5 separate regions of the Homo sapiens genome follow, and all the other regions are linked to region 5. Evidence: promoter capture Hi-C in 16 types of primary human blood cells and fetal thymus (Javierre and others, 2016). All regions are on one chromosome and are shown on one strand. The core of a region is centred on a gene start or on the middle of the fragment in contact, and the rest is flanking DNA. Distances in the headings are between cores, read along the strand shown. Region 1 holds the start of LOC124903819 (a long non-coding RNA gene). Region 2 holds the start of TNFRSF18 (TNF receptor superfamily member 18). Region 3 overlaps SDF4 (stromal cell derived factor 4). Region 4 holds the start of TTLL10 (tubulin tyrosine ligase like 10). Region 5 holds the start of PERM1 (PPARGC1 and ESRR induced regulator, muscle 1).

Region 1 (2,700 bases), core at 150-2,649, 150 kb before region 5:
ATTTCGGCCGGGACAGAGGAGGCTGTGCCCCCACCCACGTTGTTCCCAATGCCCACGCACCTTGTCAACTGGAATAAATTTGGTTTCCCTGCAAGAGCTCTCTGCCAGGAAATGTAAATCATGGCTTCTCAGTCTCTCTCCCCCTCTGAGGGCCCCCTGGCTGGGTCATTCACAGGCCCCGAGGAACTCTGGGGCCTTCGCAGCCATCTTTTCCTACAGGAACCCCCAGACACCCATAATCATCACGGGGACCCAAGACCCCAGCTTCTCCCGGGGGGCACATGGTCACCCTGTGGCCCCCTCCAGGCATCTCCGCTCAGGCTGTGGGACCCCAGGCCCGGCCCACCTGGCCAGCACAGCCCTGCAGGCCCCAGCTGACCCTCACCACCCCCCAGCCAATAGCAGAAGCCGCCAGCCCTGGGGAAGGCCCTCCGGCTGAATCCCTCCTCTTCTGAGGCCTTGCCCTCCCCGCGGGCTCCGCCTGCCACAACTGTGCCCTGGGCTCACCAGCGGGACCCCCAGGTCCTCCCCAGCACACCATGGAGGCCCCTAAGGGCTGGGCCTTGGCCAGGCGACTGGGGAGGGGCTGGTCCCGGAAGAAAAGCTTTGTGGGGCCGTGGGTGCGGGGGCTTTCGGCTCATCAGAAGCCACCAGCCCTTGAGACAAAACCTCCCAGACGCTGTGGGTCAGACCCACAGAGCCTCAGTCCTACCTGGTCCTGGGAGGGCGGAGGGCGGTGTGGGCCTGGTCCCAGGACGGCGGAGGGCAGTGTGGGCCAGGCGCGGACTCCCCCGGGCGCCCTCATGGTCTTATCTCTGCCCGGCCGGCGGAAGGCGGCGGGAACCTTTGCCTGGTACAACCACTACTGCTCCACAGCCCAGGAATTTGGCATTGAATAATTTTTAACTTCTGCTCTGAGAGAGGAGCTGGCCTTGGATTTAGTGTCCGTGCATGCAGGAATGCCGGGGCTCCATTTTCAAGTAAGTGCCTCGCGGAAAGCCGGCCTCGGAAAAGCAGAGAGAAAAGAGCAAGAAAAGTCAGAGGGGCAGGTCTGGCTGGCATCCAGCGGTGGCCAAGCCCGCAGCCCAGGTCTGACCTCACAGATGGACAGCTCCCCATGTGGGAGAAGCCGCGGGCATCTGGGGGGGGCACCAACTCCCTGGGGTCTAAAGCAGGGTTTGCGCTTCCTGGCAGGGGGGAAAGGCTGCACCTCACACCTCTCTGGGTGCAGAGCGGCTCCGGGACGGCTCCCCTCTCCTGCGCGCCCGCCCCACCTGTAACCCCAGGCCTGGTCCCGCATGATATGTTTGAATGCCAGAACCCGACGCAGCCCGCGCCACGCCCGAAACCTGCACCCCCGTCTTGCAGTCGCTGCCCTTGGCAGTCAGCACGAGCACCAGACCTGGGGGTCCTTCTGTGCTTGTCCGAGGCTCAGGCCTGTGACCCTGGCTGCTGGCTGCCCCCACTCCCACAGCACGGGCCACCAAAGCCCCAGTCCTGGGCCACAGTGGGGCGGTGGCGATGACACCCAGGGCCCTGCGGCTGAACGTGGCCAGGGCTTCACAGAGACCCGGGGCCGCCTTGTCTCCAGCCACGGTGGAGGAGGCAGCGGCCCTGTGGCTCTGCCCATGGAGTTGGGAAACATAAGGCCCAAAAGCAGACTCGTCCTTTAACTGAGTTTCGCTGGGGCCGGCTTGGGGACCCACCTCTCACGAGAGCACTGGCCTGCCGGCATGCCAGAGCCCCTGACACCACACAGGAGCCGGGTGGGGCTGGGCGTAGCCCGTGGTATCGGCCCCCCAGACCTGGCCACCTAGGCCCAGGGCAGCACCCGGGGAGGACGGGGGTCTGGGTGGCCGGTGGCTTCCCGTGGCCGCTGCTCAGCCCCACTCTGTCCAGCCCCCTGGGAGTGGCTGTGGAGGGCATCCTGTGTGCTGGAGGGGCAAGATGGGGAGGGCTCTTGTCCAGAGACCCAGGGGTGCCGTTTCAGAAAACAGAGCATCATGTGCTGGGACCAGACACAGCTCATCTTTTCCAGGGGACGGCGAGAAGGACACGCTCGGTTCCGCACTCTCAGGCTCCTGCTCCTCACAAGGCAAGCGCCTCCAGGGAGCTGCATTTGGGAAAATATCCACCAAGCACTAAAGAAACACAACCATAAAGAACCATAAAGCATCCACGCGGAAAAGCTTATTCAGATCAATAAAGCTGCGGCGGGCCGGGCACAGTGGCTCACACCTGTCATCCCAGCACTTTGGGAGGCCGATGTGGGTGGATCACGAGATCAGGAGATGGAGACCAGCCTGGCCAACATGGTGAAACCCCGTCTCTACTAAAATACAACAAATTAGCTGGGCGTGGTGGCACGTGCCTGTAGTCCCAGCTACTCAGGAGGCTGAGGCAGAAGAATTGCTTGAACCCAGGAGGCGTAGCTTGCAGTGAGCAGAGATTGCACCACTGCACTCCAGCCTGGGTGACAGAGCGAGACTCCGTCTCAAAAAACAAATAAATACATAAAATAAAAGTAATAATAATAAAAAAACTGCAGCGAGGGCCCAGCGTGCCCACCACTCATCAACAAGTCAAAGCGCGAACCCTGTGGGTGCAGCAGCCGGACCTCGGGTGTGCTGGCTTTCCGACACCCAAACCAGCAAACCTCACACCCGCTGCTCGCGGAGGGCCGCTGAAGCCGCAGCGAGG
Region 2 (2,700 bases), core at 111-2,610, 220 kb before region 5:
TTTAGTAGAGACGGGCTTTCTCCATGTGGGTCAGGCTGGTCTCGAACCCCTGACCTCAGGTGATCCGAGGCCCACCTCGGCCTCCCAAAATGCTGGGATTACGGGCGTGAGCCACTGATGGCGCCTCTTTCTATCCAGGGGCCCAGACCCCCTCCCAGCCTCGGGGCTGAAGATCTCCAGGCCTCTCAAAGGCCCCCAGGCCCAGCTGGCCCCACCCCTTTCCTTCCGAGCGTCGGGGCGGCCTGGAGCTGCAGAGACCCCTTCCTTCTCTGCAGTGTCTGAGGGCTGCCTCTCCAAGGCAGGCTCCTACATCTTGGATTTGAGAACTCCGGGGTGTCACAAACAGCTAATTCCTGTCATTTACCTTGGAAAAGGAGGAACCGCCTTACGGGGTGAGGCGGTGGCTGCAGGTCTCAAAAGGGTGTTGAACCACATCCACGCTCACGTTCCCGAGAGCCCCCACCCCCAGCATTCATGGGGGTCTCCACCTGTGCTGGACGGCGCAGAAGCAGGGCTGGGCAATCCAGGGAGGCTTCCTGGTGGAGGCAGGGTCCCAGAACCCCTCGGTGCCCACAGGGGAAACTGAGGCTCAGAAAGACATAGGACAGTCTCCCAAGAGCTCTGCGAGGGGCTCCTCCTCAACTCCCTCCGGGACCTGGATCTGTCTGGTGTGACGGATGAAGGTGGCTCTGAGAGACCGGGCCCTGGGTGCCCGCGGGGGCGGCTGACACTGTCCCGAGGAGGCGCCAGCACCCTCTCGTCTCCCCACCAGCTCCTCCTGGTGCCCCTCCCAAGCCCCGGGGAACTTCCCAGGTTGGCCTGAGGGGGGTCCTGGAGAGCTGCAAGCAAGGGGGAGGGGAGCCCACAGGCCTGCAGCCCATGGTGAGTTTCACACCTGAAGCCAGCCAGGTGGGGTGTGCTGAGCCGAGGGGTCCCTGTCCCCATTCTGTGGGGTTCCCCAGCACGGGGCTCCATGGTTGAGGCTCTCTGGGGGTGGCCAGAATTTGTGGAGACCTCTCGGGGACTCGCAGATACCACCCGGAGGCAGTGGGATGGAGGAGTGATTGGCTGACCCCCGCCCTCCAAGGGGCCCCCATGGGACAAGGTGCTATAAACGCCGCCCCCTGCACTGGGGACACCAATGTGGCCGCAGACTTTGCATAGAAAACCTTTCTGATCCCCGCCAGCCTGGTTTCCCCGCCCCTGCCGGCGACCTGCGGGGGACCGGGCTGTGTCCGCAGTGTCTACACCCCCTCCTCACACGCACTTCACCTGGGTCGGGATTCTCAGGTCATGAACGGTCCCAGCCACCTCCGGGCAGGGCGGGTGAGGACGGGGACGGGGCGTGTCCAACTGGCTGTGGGCTCTTGAAACCCGAGCATGGCACAGCACGGGGCGATGGGCGCGTTTCGGGCCCTGTGCGGCCTGGCGCTGCTGTGCGCGCTCAGCCTGGGTCAGCGCCCCACCGGGGGTCCCGGGTGCGGCCCTGGGCGCCTCCTGCTTGGGACGGGAACGGACGCGCGCTGCTGCCGGGTTCACACGACGCGCTGCTGCCGCGATTACCCGGGTAAGTAAACCGCGTTTACTTAACGCGGACCGGCCAAGGCGTCCCGCGGAAGCCGGGATGGGTGGGCGCCCCCCTTCCCGTGCTCAGACCGGCGTTGCTGAGGTCTAAGGAGGGTGGGCACAGAGCCGCCAGCAGCGGGAGCCTTCCGGAGGGAGGCAGGATCCCAGAGGGAGGCGGAGGTGTGCCAGCTCCAGCCAGTGGCCCCGGCCGGGAGCAGGGGTGAGCCAGGTGGGAGCGCCCTCAAGAGGGGTCTGGGGTCTGGAGGTGGAGGACGGCTGTTCCAGGTCCTGCTGGGCGGGTCGTGAGCCCTTGGCCATCGCCCAGCCCCCTCCTGCCCAGTTGAGGGCCCCCCTGCACCACCGTCTGGCCTGCTGCCTGCCTCTGACCTGCACCTGGGGATGAGGGTTCAGCTGACACGGCTGGTCTGGAGAGGAAGCTGGCAGGGAAGTCACCCCAGAGCTTCTTCCTCCAGGGCCTGTGGGTTGGGAAGGGAGGCTCTGTCCGGAGGCCCAGTGTGGCTGGTGGTGGGGACAGCAGCGCCCAGACACCAGGCAGGCGGCCTCTGAGGTGTCGACGGGCCTCCAGGGGACTGTGCACTGTTGGGGGCCACCCCTGGGTCCTGCAGGGGCAGCTCCTGGTTGCATATGGAGTTAGCACCTGGGCAGGGGCAGCTGTGGGGCGCAAAGGGGGAGTAGCCAGGCCACATGGCCCCAGGAGAAAGAGACAGCTGGATAAACCCAGGGTCCAGACTCCCAGCCAGGAGCCCTCTGCTCCCTGGAGCCAACTGTGGGTGGAGAACGGACAACCTCACTCCCCTGGAGGGCCGAGGGGAGGCCTGGGGAGGAGGGGGCCTCAGCCCAGCTGCTGGGGGGCTGGCCTGTCTCCTGCCCAGGCGAGGAGTGCTGTTCCGAGTGGGACTGCATGTGTGTCCAGCCTGAATTCCACTGCGGAGACCCTTGCTGCACGACCTGCCGGCACCACCCTTGTCCCCCAGGCCAGGGGGTACAGTCCCAGGGTAAGTCCTGGAGGTGCCTCTGGGAGTCCACACAGGCCAGGGGTTCCACTAGGGCCCGAGGCAGAGCTCGTGGGCACAGGTGTCCGGCGAGGACATGTGGTGTGTGGGGTCCGGAGTC
Region 3 (2,700 bases), core at 189-2,688, 240 kb before region 5:
GGGCCCAGTGGCCACACCTGTAATCCTAGCACGTTGGGAGGCTGAGGTGGGTGGATCATTTGAGGTCAGGAGTTTGAGACTAGCCTGCCCAACATGGTGAAACCGTATTTCTGTTAAAAATACAAAAATTAGCCAGGCGTGGTGGTGCACCCCTGTAATCCCAGCTACTCGGGAGGCTGAGGCAGTAGAATCGCTTGAACCCGGGAGGCGGAGGTTGCAGTGAGCAAAGATTGCGCCACCACACTCCAGCCTGGGTGACAGAGTGAGACTCCATCTCAAAAAATAAAATAAAACGTGAAGAGTGTGACTTTTGGAAGCTGTGGTTGGAGAGTGGGGTCTGGTGGTGATTCTGTGTGACAGAGGGGGAGGGTCCATGTGTTTCCCCGGGGAGGGGACCGTGGCATCCACCTTCCCCAGTGTCTCTGGCGTGGCCCGGCACCCCACAAGCCCCACGTCCCGGACGCTTTTCGCGTTGCCTGGTGGAGCCTGTCGCTGTTGGTGGCAGGTTCACGCAGCCATGGAGTCCTGGGCCGGCGGCATCCGTCTGGCTGTTCGGGGTCCTGGGGGCCCAGTCTGACGGCCACCTGCCCATTTGCTGTCTTGCAGGGTGGATGTGAACACTGACCGGAAGATCAGTGCCAAGGAGATGCAGCGCTGGATCATGGAGAAGACGGCCGAGCACTTCCAGGAGGCCATGGAGGAGAGCAAGACACACTTCCGCGCCGTGGACCCTGACGGGGACGGTACTGTGGCTGGGCCGGGGTGGGTGGGGCGGTGGGCGGGGCGGGCAGGGCCATGGGCCTTGCCTGGTGCCTGGAGGGCAGACAGGCCCTGTCTGAGGGACGGGCGGTGGGGAAGTGTCAGCCGGAGACCCCGAGGTGTGGTGGGGTGCACGGAAGCTGGGTTCATGATGCCAGAATCCTGGTGACAGAGGTGTGTGTGCCAAGCACTGGGCGTGGCCCATGGAGGGCGCCTCTTATGTCTTCGGGGCCTTCATCTGGTGGTGTCTATGCCTCTTGGTGGCCCCGAGGCACAGACGTTGCCGGCTGGCCTCACAGGTGAGGAAACGGGTGTGGGGTGCTGGCCGGGGCCCTGGGGCTCCAGACGCTGGCATCCTGCCGCTTCCAGCCTGGGCAGCAGAGCAAGACCCCATCTCAGTTGAGAAGGAAGTTCAGCTCAGTATCAGAGGCCCTGACAGGTGTGATCTGCTCTTCCAGGTCACGTGTCTTGGGACGAGTATAAGGTGAAGTTTTTGGCGAGTAAAGGCCATAGCGAGAAGGAGGTTGCCGACGCCATCAGGCTCAACGAGGAACTCAAAGTGGATGAGGAAAGTGAGTGCTCAGCCAGGCTCCCGCCACCGGTCTCAGGCATCCTGTGTGTGCGCGCGTGTGTTGTGTGTACATGAGTGTGCCGTGTGTGTCGTGTATGAGTGTGCCGTGCGTGTGCTCGTGAGTACGTGTGTGCGTGCCGTGTGTACGAGTGTGCTGTGCGCGTGCTCGTGAGTACGTGTGTGCATGTTGTGTGTACGTGTGCTGTGTGTGTGCTCGTGAGTACATGTGTATGCGTGTCGTGTGTACGAGTGCACTGTGCATGTGCTTGTACGTGTGTGCGTGTCGTGTGTACGAGTGCGCTGTGCGTGTGCTTGTGAGTACATCCAGGTAGCTGTTCATGTAGGCTCGTGAGTACATGCAGGTGAGTGCGCCCTCACACCCGCTGTGTGCACACGTGTTCGTCTTAACAGCATGGCCCAACCTGGTTGGTGGTGGCTGTCAGGAGGGAAGTGGGTGAAGCCGTTGCTGACCTAGGCGCCGCCCAGGAGTCCGGTGGGGAGCGTGTGAGCTGTGCCTGGGCAGCTTTCAGCTCTGCTGGTCACGGCACCTTCACGGCCGTTACTCAGTTAGGTCCTGCAGAGAATCTGAGGCTGTGAGTCTGGGTTGGGGCCTGCCCCGTACTCTGAAGGCCACGTGAGGCAGAGTTTCCTGGGGAGAGGGCACAGCCTGTGCCTGAGGGCCTGGCCCTGAGGCCTGGGTCTGCTGGAGACATCTGTGTGGCCGTCAGGTGGTCACCAGAGAGCGGTCAGGTCCCAGGGAGAGGCTCTTCCTTGGGTCTGGGGTGTGGCCGTTGGCCAGCAGGGCAGCCTCAGCCCTGGGCGGGTCCAAGCTGGTGCCTCTGCGTGAAGAGGGTGGGGCCGGGTGGGGCCCGGCACCCGGGCTAAGGCCAGGTGAGGGGAGAGCCGGGCCACCCTGCACGGGGCCAGGTCTGGGAGAGCCGTCCAGGCAGAAGCCCCTGCTGGCCCAGTTGTGAGGCACAGCTGAGCGGGTACCGTGGCGTTGCTGCCACCCTGGGGCTCCGTGTGCCCTTCCCGGTCATGCCCGTGGTCTGGTTTGGGGCTTTGAGGAGAACGTGCAGAGTCGCCTGCTCCGTCGCTGCCCGGCATCCTGGGGTGGGTTCTCTGCTGCCCTGCAGGGCGCCCGTGTCGCCCACGGGACTGGTCACGTGATACGGGGCTGCTCCTGGCAGGCTGGGTGTATCTTACACCTTTATTTTTTGTGCCTGCTTAACTTATCAGTAACACACATTTCCTCACCAGAGTCTCAAGGCAAACCACCTCTTCTTTCTTTTTTCATGAGACGGTCTCACTCTGCTACCCAGCCTGCAGTGCAGTGGTGCAGTCTCGGCTCCCTGCAGCTGTACCTTCCA
Region 4 (2,700 bases), core at 137-2,636, 190 kb before region 5:
GGCAGCCAGGTGCTGATTTCATCGTAAGCCTGAGGCCTCCTTTGGGCTTTTCTAACTTTATGTCCTTATGATGTTCACAAATAACTAAATAAGTTGTGAGCTGTTATTTCTTGTCATTGAAATTAAAGGTGTTTTTTTTTTTAATTTTTTTAGACGAAGTCTCACTCTGTCGCCCAGGCTGGAGTGCAATGGCGCAATCGCGGCTCACTGTAACCTCCGCCTCCCAGGTTCAAACAATTCTCCCGCCTCAGCCTCCTGAGTAGCTGGGATTACAGGCGCCTGCTGCCATGCCCGGCTAATTTTTGTATTTTTAGTAGAGACAGGGTTTCTCCATGTTGACCAGGCTGGTCTCAAACTCCTGACCTCGTGATCCGCCCACCTCGGCCTCCCAAAGTGCTGGGATTACAGGCGTGAGCCACCGCCCCGGACTGAAATCAAAGGTTTCTTAAGCAGCTGCCCGCTGTGTGTGTGGTGAACCCGGGGCCTGAATGCAGGTGGGACGCAGCCTCCCAAGCGCCGGGAGCCGCTGGCTCCTCACGCCTGTCGATCTAGCAAATGTGCTTTGGAGTCTCTGACGGACGCGATTCTGAATCCAGAAGGAAAGCGTCTCACTCCGAGATGCTGACTGACGTGTCCTTTATAGCGGTGGGACTTGGGAAGCCGGTGACGCCCGGTGTGGAGGACGGTTGTGACGCCCCTCGGTGGGGACACGGTGTAAAGGCGGCGTGGAAACTTGGTGCACGACCTTACAATAAATTGTAAAATAAGCGTTTTACCTGGTGAGATGAAAAGACCGGCAGGAGACGGCACCCCGGTAGGATGAACAGAAGAGACTTTTAAACCTGAAGAAATCATCCAAAAAGCGACCACATGTTAGTGTCCTGCTGCGAGTTCTCCCCCCAGAATCCAAGCTTGGCCACGTGGGGCCCTAGGAAGGTACTGACATTGTTCGAAGAGCTGGTGCCTCCCGGCCGGAGGCCGCTGTCAAAGGACGCACGACCTGTGGGCTCAAGCAGCCGTCCGTCCAGGACTTGCTCTGCGGAGGCAGACCTGGTCCCAGGCCACGGAGCTCGTCCCAGGGCTGCCCAGCCCTCCCACCCCACCGGGTACACACACCGTTCCCCGGCCTGGCCTGGACCCGAGCCTCTCGCACGGTGGCGCTGGGGTCCGGGACCCGCAGAGCAGGCTCAGCCTGGCCCCACCCTACCCGATCCCTGTCCAGTCCCCTCCCCAGCCTCCTCCTCTCCTGAGCAGCCTCCCGAGGGGACCCGCAGGCAGGGCGTAGGAGGGCGGGGCCGAGCCCACTGGACCCCAGCTGGTGGCCGCCGGCGCTTCTTACCTGCCCAGCCCACAAGGTCCTGGGAGCCTGGGCCAGGAAACAACAGTGGTGACCTGGCAACCGTCTCCTGGCAACCCCCACCCAGCCGGAACCCAGAGGTGAGCTTGGGTTTTCGGAGGATGGGGAGGGGCTGCTGAGTGGCGGGGCCAGCCCGGGAAGCCGGGCTGAGGGCTGAGGCTGGAGAAGGGCACAGCTTCATGGGCACAGCTGCCTCCCAGTCACTGCTGGGACTGCCTGAGCCTGAGCCCCAGTTGCTGCCCCTCCGCCCGGCCCTCCCAGGATGGTCCCTGAGCCGTCTCTCAGGCCCCACCCATGCTCAGCACCCCAGGACCTGGCCCGGGCCAGGCTCTGCGTGCACCCTGGTGATGTTGGCTGGATACACGGCTGCCGATCCCTGAGCATTCTCTGTGCTTCACGTGGTCGGGTCCCTGTTCTCACTCCACAGCGGACGAGGTGCCACTGTGCCCCCCTCTGCAAACAGGAACCGGGGGCTCCACAAAGTGAGTGCCCCCCAGAGGGGGACTCACATCTATCGGTCCAAACTGCACCTTTCTGTAAGCCCCTCGCTGTGTCACAGACCTCGGCCAAAGTGAAGCATTCCGCAGGGGTTTGGGCCGTGAGGAACAGCCTGCCCGACACCTGACTTGAACACTCTGCGGGGAAAAACACCGAGGAACATCACGATTACCTTCTGCGGGAACAAGGGCCAAACAAACGGCCTCATCCTGAAGCCGTGTGGCCCGGGCCGCTCCCACCCATACCTATAGGCACCCCAGCCCGTAGGCGGCAGTGGGCTCTGGCATCCAGCTGGTCCCCCACCTCTGCAGGTGTTTGCAATGTACCCGTGTTGATGTAAGGCTGCCCTTTCTCCATCTCTGTGTGTCTTTGTTTAACCCTCACATTCTCTCTTTTTTTTTTTTCAAAATACGGAGTCTCACTCTTTTGCCCAGGCTGGAGTGCAATGGTACGGTCTCGGCTCACTGCAACCTCCGCCTCCCAGGATCAAGCAATTCTCCTGCCTCAGCCTCCCGAGTAGCTGGGATTACAGGTGCCCACCACAGTGCCCAGCTAATTTTTGTATTTTTAATATTAATTTTATTTTTTATTTTTATTTTGTTTTATATTTTATATATTTATTATTTTATATATTATTTTCTATATTATTATAATTATTTTATTATTAATTTATTATTAATTTTAGAGGGTTTCATCATGTTGGCCAGGCTGCTCTTGAACTCCTGACCTCAGGTGATCCGCCCGCCTCGGCCTCCCAAAGTGCTGGGATTACAGGCGTGAGTCACTGCGCCTGGCCTGCCCTCGCCTTCTCTTTAAAACACCTAATGATACGAGGTCTGGGAGTC
Region 5 (2,500 bases), core at 1-2,500:
GGAGGCACAGGGAGGCGGCCGCAGCCGAGAGACGCCACACAGAAGCAGATGCGCAGCTCCTGGGAAACTCCAGCCTGGAGCACGGCCACGCAGCCACCTGGGGAACGGGGCGGCACCTTCTGACGCTGACCCCAAGCGTCCTGGAAATGTGAGAGGTTCGCCGAAAGGAATGTTCCCAGATATTCACAGCCGCACCGTGTGTGGTAGCTGCAAACTGGAAACGACCCACATCGCCACCCACGGGAAACGGCACAGCCGCGTGGCACGTTCACACAGGACAGCCTCACCCGCCCGGGCAGTCGCCCGCGGCCCTCATGGCAGCTGTCTCCAGAGCACGGCGTGGGCCCGAGGACACAGATGCAGAAAGGGATGCAGGGTGCGATTCCACTTGTGAAAGCTCAAGTCAGGCCGGCCCTGCGTGGCGGGACGCCTTGTCCTGTGGTCTCGTGGCAGCTACTTTCTGGAAAAGCATCGTATGGCACCAGGCATGCACTTTCTGCACGCCCAGCTCTCACTGCCACCCCTCACGGCGCACACCCCAGTCTCCTAGTATCGTGCCCTGAACTCTCAGGAGCTTCTCGGTCCAAGCCTCCTCCTTAGAGAGGTCTCCGGCCCCTCCAGCCACGCCTCTCCCTACTTCTTTCTCAGGACGTGCTGCCATCGGAGCTGAGCTCACCTGCCTGTTTGATCGGATGTTTATTGTTGGATCCCTCGCCCTGTCCTCTTGTCCCCTCTGGCTCGGAACCTGCCTGGGAATGGGCACCGTGAACCCCAAGGTCAGGACGGCCTGGAGGGTGCAGCTGAGCGGAGCCAGGCGTGGGGGCTCTGACGCTGACGCTCCCTGGCGTCACTCACCCTCACATGAGCCCCAGAGGTCAGGACCGGGAGGCACAAGCCCTGGCCGGGACACAGAGGCCATCTCAGAAGCAGGCCAGGAACATTCCAGGGGCGGCAGGGAGGGCAGGTCTGAGGTTTCACCGCGGGTGGCGGAGGCACGGGAACTGAGCGGTGCTGCCTGCTGGTCAGCGTCCTCCGGCCCGTGTCTGACCCCACCTCAGCCCGGCCCCGTGCCAGGAAGTCGTCCTCATGTACTGTAGCTGGAGGGCCCTCAAATGCCATCTATTTGTGGCCTGGACCCTGATGGCTGGCACGAGTCTCATGTGGCCACAGGGACGTGGTATTTTTGGCACAGGGGGAGGAGCCTGTGCAGCCACAGCCTAGCACCATGCCGACCCAGGACGGGCAGCTCAGACGCCCAGCTCGGCCGCCGGGACCCAGGTAGGACATGGTCAGCTGCTGGCTCCTGACCCAAGGGGCCCCAATGGTAACAACCCCCACAGAGGCTTCTCAAGAGACCAGAGAGGAGGGCGAAGGTCAGTGGGTGGGAAGCCACCATGCCCTGGCCTCCGTCTCAGGACCGTCCCCACCAAAGTGACTTCCCACCCCTGGGTCCAGAGGGGCTGACCTGAGGCCGAGGGCGGCCCCCTCTAGGGGTAGACCCGACAGCTGGCTAGGGTCTCCTTGCTTCTCTGAGACGGGGCAAAGGAAGGCACCCCGGGCAGCCGGGCAGGCCTGGATCGTGGTGCAGACCTCGAGGACGGCCCGAGGTGGCTGCTGGGTCAAGAGACCCACCGCAGCCTGCACCTCCTGCCCAGGCTCTCCGTGCTGACTTGGGCCAGCTCTGGCCAGCACCACCTGGTGAGCTCAGAGAATAGCCTGGCCCAGCCAAGGCGATCGGAAGGTCATCGCCGAGGGCTGGGCACCTGCTGGGCCCTGTAAACCTTTCCTGTGGCCGGCTGCCAGCTGGGGCGCACTGGGATGGACCAGGGCTGCCCACCCCCGAGGGCACTGGTCCCATCGGGTGGACCCTGAAAGGTGCTTTGCCGTGCAAAGACAGCTCTGGCAGAAGGTGGAGGAGGTGAGGCTGCCCCAGCTGAGGTGTGATGGGAAAGAGCATTCAAACCTGAGGACGGCTGGTTTTATAGCTTCACTGGTAGAAAATCATCCTTGATTCTAGGAATGTAACACCGCATCATCACACAGCTATCATTTGGGGTGCGTTGGGAACTAGGGTCATGGGAGCTGGGGATCTTCTAACTTGGAAATCGTCACCACTAGGTTTGAAGGAAGCGCGGCCCTCCCCTCGAGATGCTGTTCTCTTCCTTTCAGGGCATGGATGGAGCCCCGAGGCGGTGGGAGCTCCCAGGTCTCGTGGGGCAGGGGCGGCATGTGCAGGGTGGTGCCCGGGGCCTGAACCCATGAAGACCCCACCGGACCCATTCTGCTACCCTCCAGTGCCTCTGCTGACTCCACATGGAAAATTTCCAGTACAGCGTCCAGCTGAGTGACCAGGACTGGGCCGAGTTCTCAGCCACCGCCGATGAGTGTGGCCTCCTGCAGGCCGGCCTGGCCTCTGGGGACGAGCTCTTGTCCAGTGACATTGACCAAGGGGACAGCAGTGGCAGCAGTCCCCCCAGGGCCCCACCTCTCCCAACTGGGC

Evidence for each region. The method cuts DNA at HindIII sites, captures the fragments that hold promoters and counts their contacts. A CHiCAGO score of 5 or more calls a contact.
Region 1: a fragment that was not itself captured here is called in contact with the fragment with the promoter of PERM1 in region 5 in 2 of 17 cell types (endothelial precursors and erythroblasts); the score reaches 6.4 in endothelial precursors.
Region 2: a contact is called between the fragment with the promoter of TNFRSF18 here and the fragment with the promoter of PERM1 in region 5, in 16 of 17 cell types (erythroblasts, activated CD4 T cells, naive CD8 T cells and 13 more). The highest score is 33.1, in erythroblasts.
Region 3: a fragment that was not itself captured here is called in contact with the fragment with the promoter of PERM1 in region 5 in 2 of 17 cell types (endothelial precursors and erythroblasts); the score reaches 8.3 in endothelial precursors.
Region 4: a contact is called between the fragment with the promoter of TTLL10 here and the fragment with the promoter of PERM1 in region 5, in 3 of 17 cell types (M1 macrophages, endothelial precursors and erythroblasts). The highest score is 6.3, in M1 macrophages.

Annotation. Positions count from the first base shown.
Region 1 is chr1:1,126,771-1,129,470 of GRCh38, reverse strand. LOC124903819 (a long non-coding RNA gene) reads left to right here and starts at 487. Exons shown (of 2, transcript XR_007065349.1): 1 at 487-980; 2 at 2,039-2,700. LOC124903820 (a long non-coding RNA gene) reads right to left here and starts at 787. Exons shown (of 3, transcript XR_007065351.1): 1 at 713-787. The HindIII fragment of the contact is 1,585 bases long and covers 607-2,191 here.
Region 2 is chr1:1,205,252-1,207,951 of GRCh38, reverse strand. It overlaps TNFRSF18 (TNF receptor superfamily member 18), which reads left to right and starts at 1,360. Exons shown (of 5, transcript NM_004195.3): 1 at 1,360-1,567; 2 at 2,460-2,582. The coding sequence starts at 1,381. RefSeq lists a silencer at 2,577-2,700. The HindIII fragment of the contact is 24,444 bases long and covers 1-2,700 here.
Region 3 is chr1:1,221,875-1,224,574 of GRCh38, reverse strand. It overlaps SDF4 (stromal cell derived factor 4), which reads left to right. Exons shown (of 7, transcript NM_016176.6): 3 at 607-743; 4 at 1,218-1,331. Among named protein-coding and RNA genes, the nearest start is that of SDF4, 8.8 kb to the left of the region's middle. The HindIII fragment of the contact is 4,562 bases long and covers 1-2,700 here.
Region 4 is chr1:1,172,566-1,175,265 of GRCh38, reverse strand. TTLL10 (tubulin tyrosine ligase like 10) reads right to left here and starts at 1,386. Exons shown (of 16, transcript NM_001130045.2): 1 at 1,340-1,386; 2 at 945-981; 3 at 777-842. TTLL10-AS1 (TTLL10 antisense RNA 1) reads left to right here. Exons shown (of 2, transcript NR_173246.1): 2 at 1-2,210. RefSeq lists a silencer at 1,147-1,236. The HindIII fragment of the contact is 2,617 bases long and covers 914-2,700 here.
Region 5 is chr1:980,843-983,342 of GRCh38, reverse strand. PERM1 (PPARGC1 and ESRR induced regulator, muscle 1) reads left to right here and starts at 1,250. Exons shown (of 4, transcript NM_001394713.1): 1 at 1,250-1,278; 2 at 2,170-2,500. The coding sequence starts at 2,314. The HindIII fragment of the contact is 23,754 bases long and covers 1-2,500 here.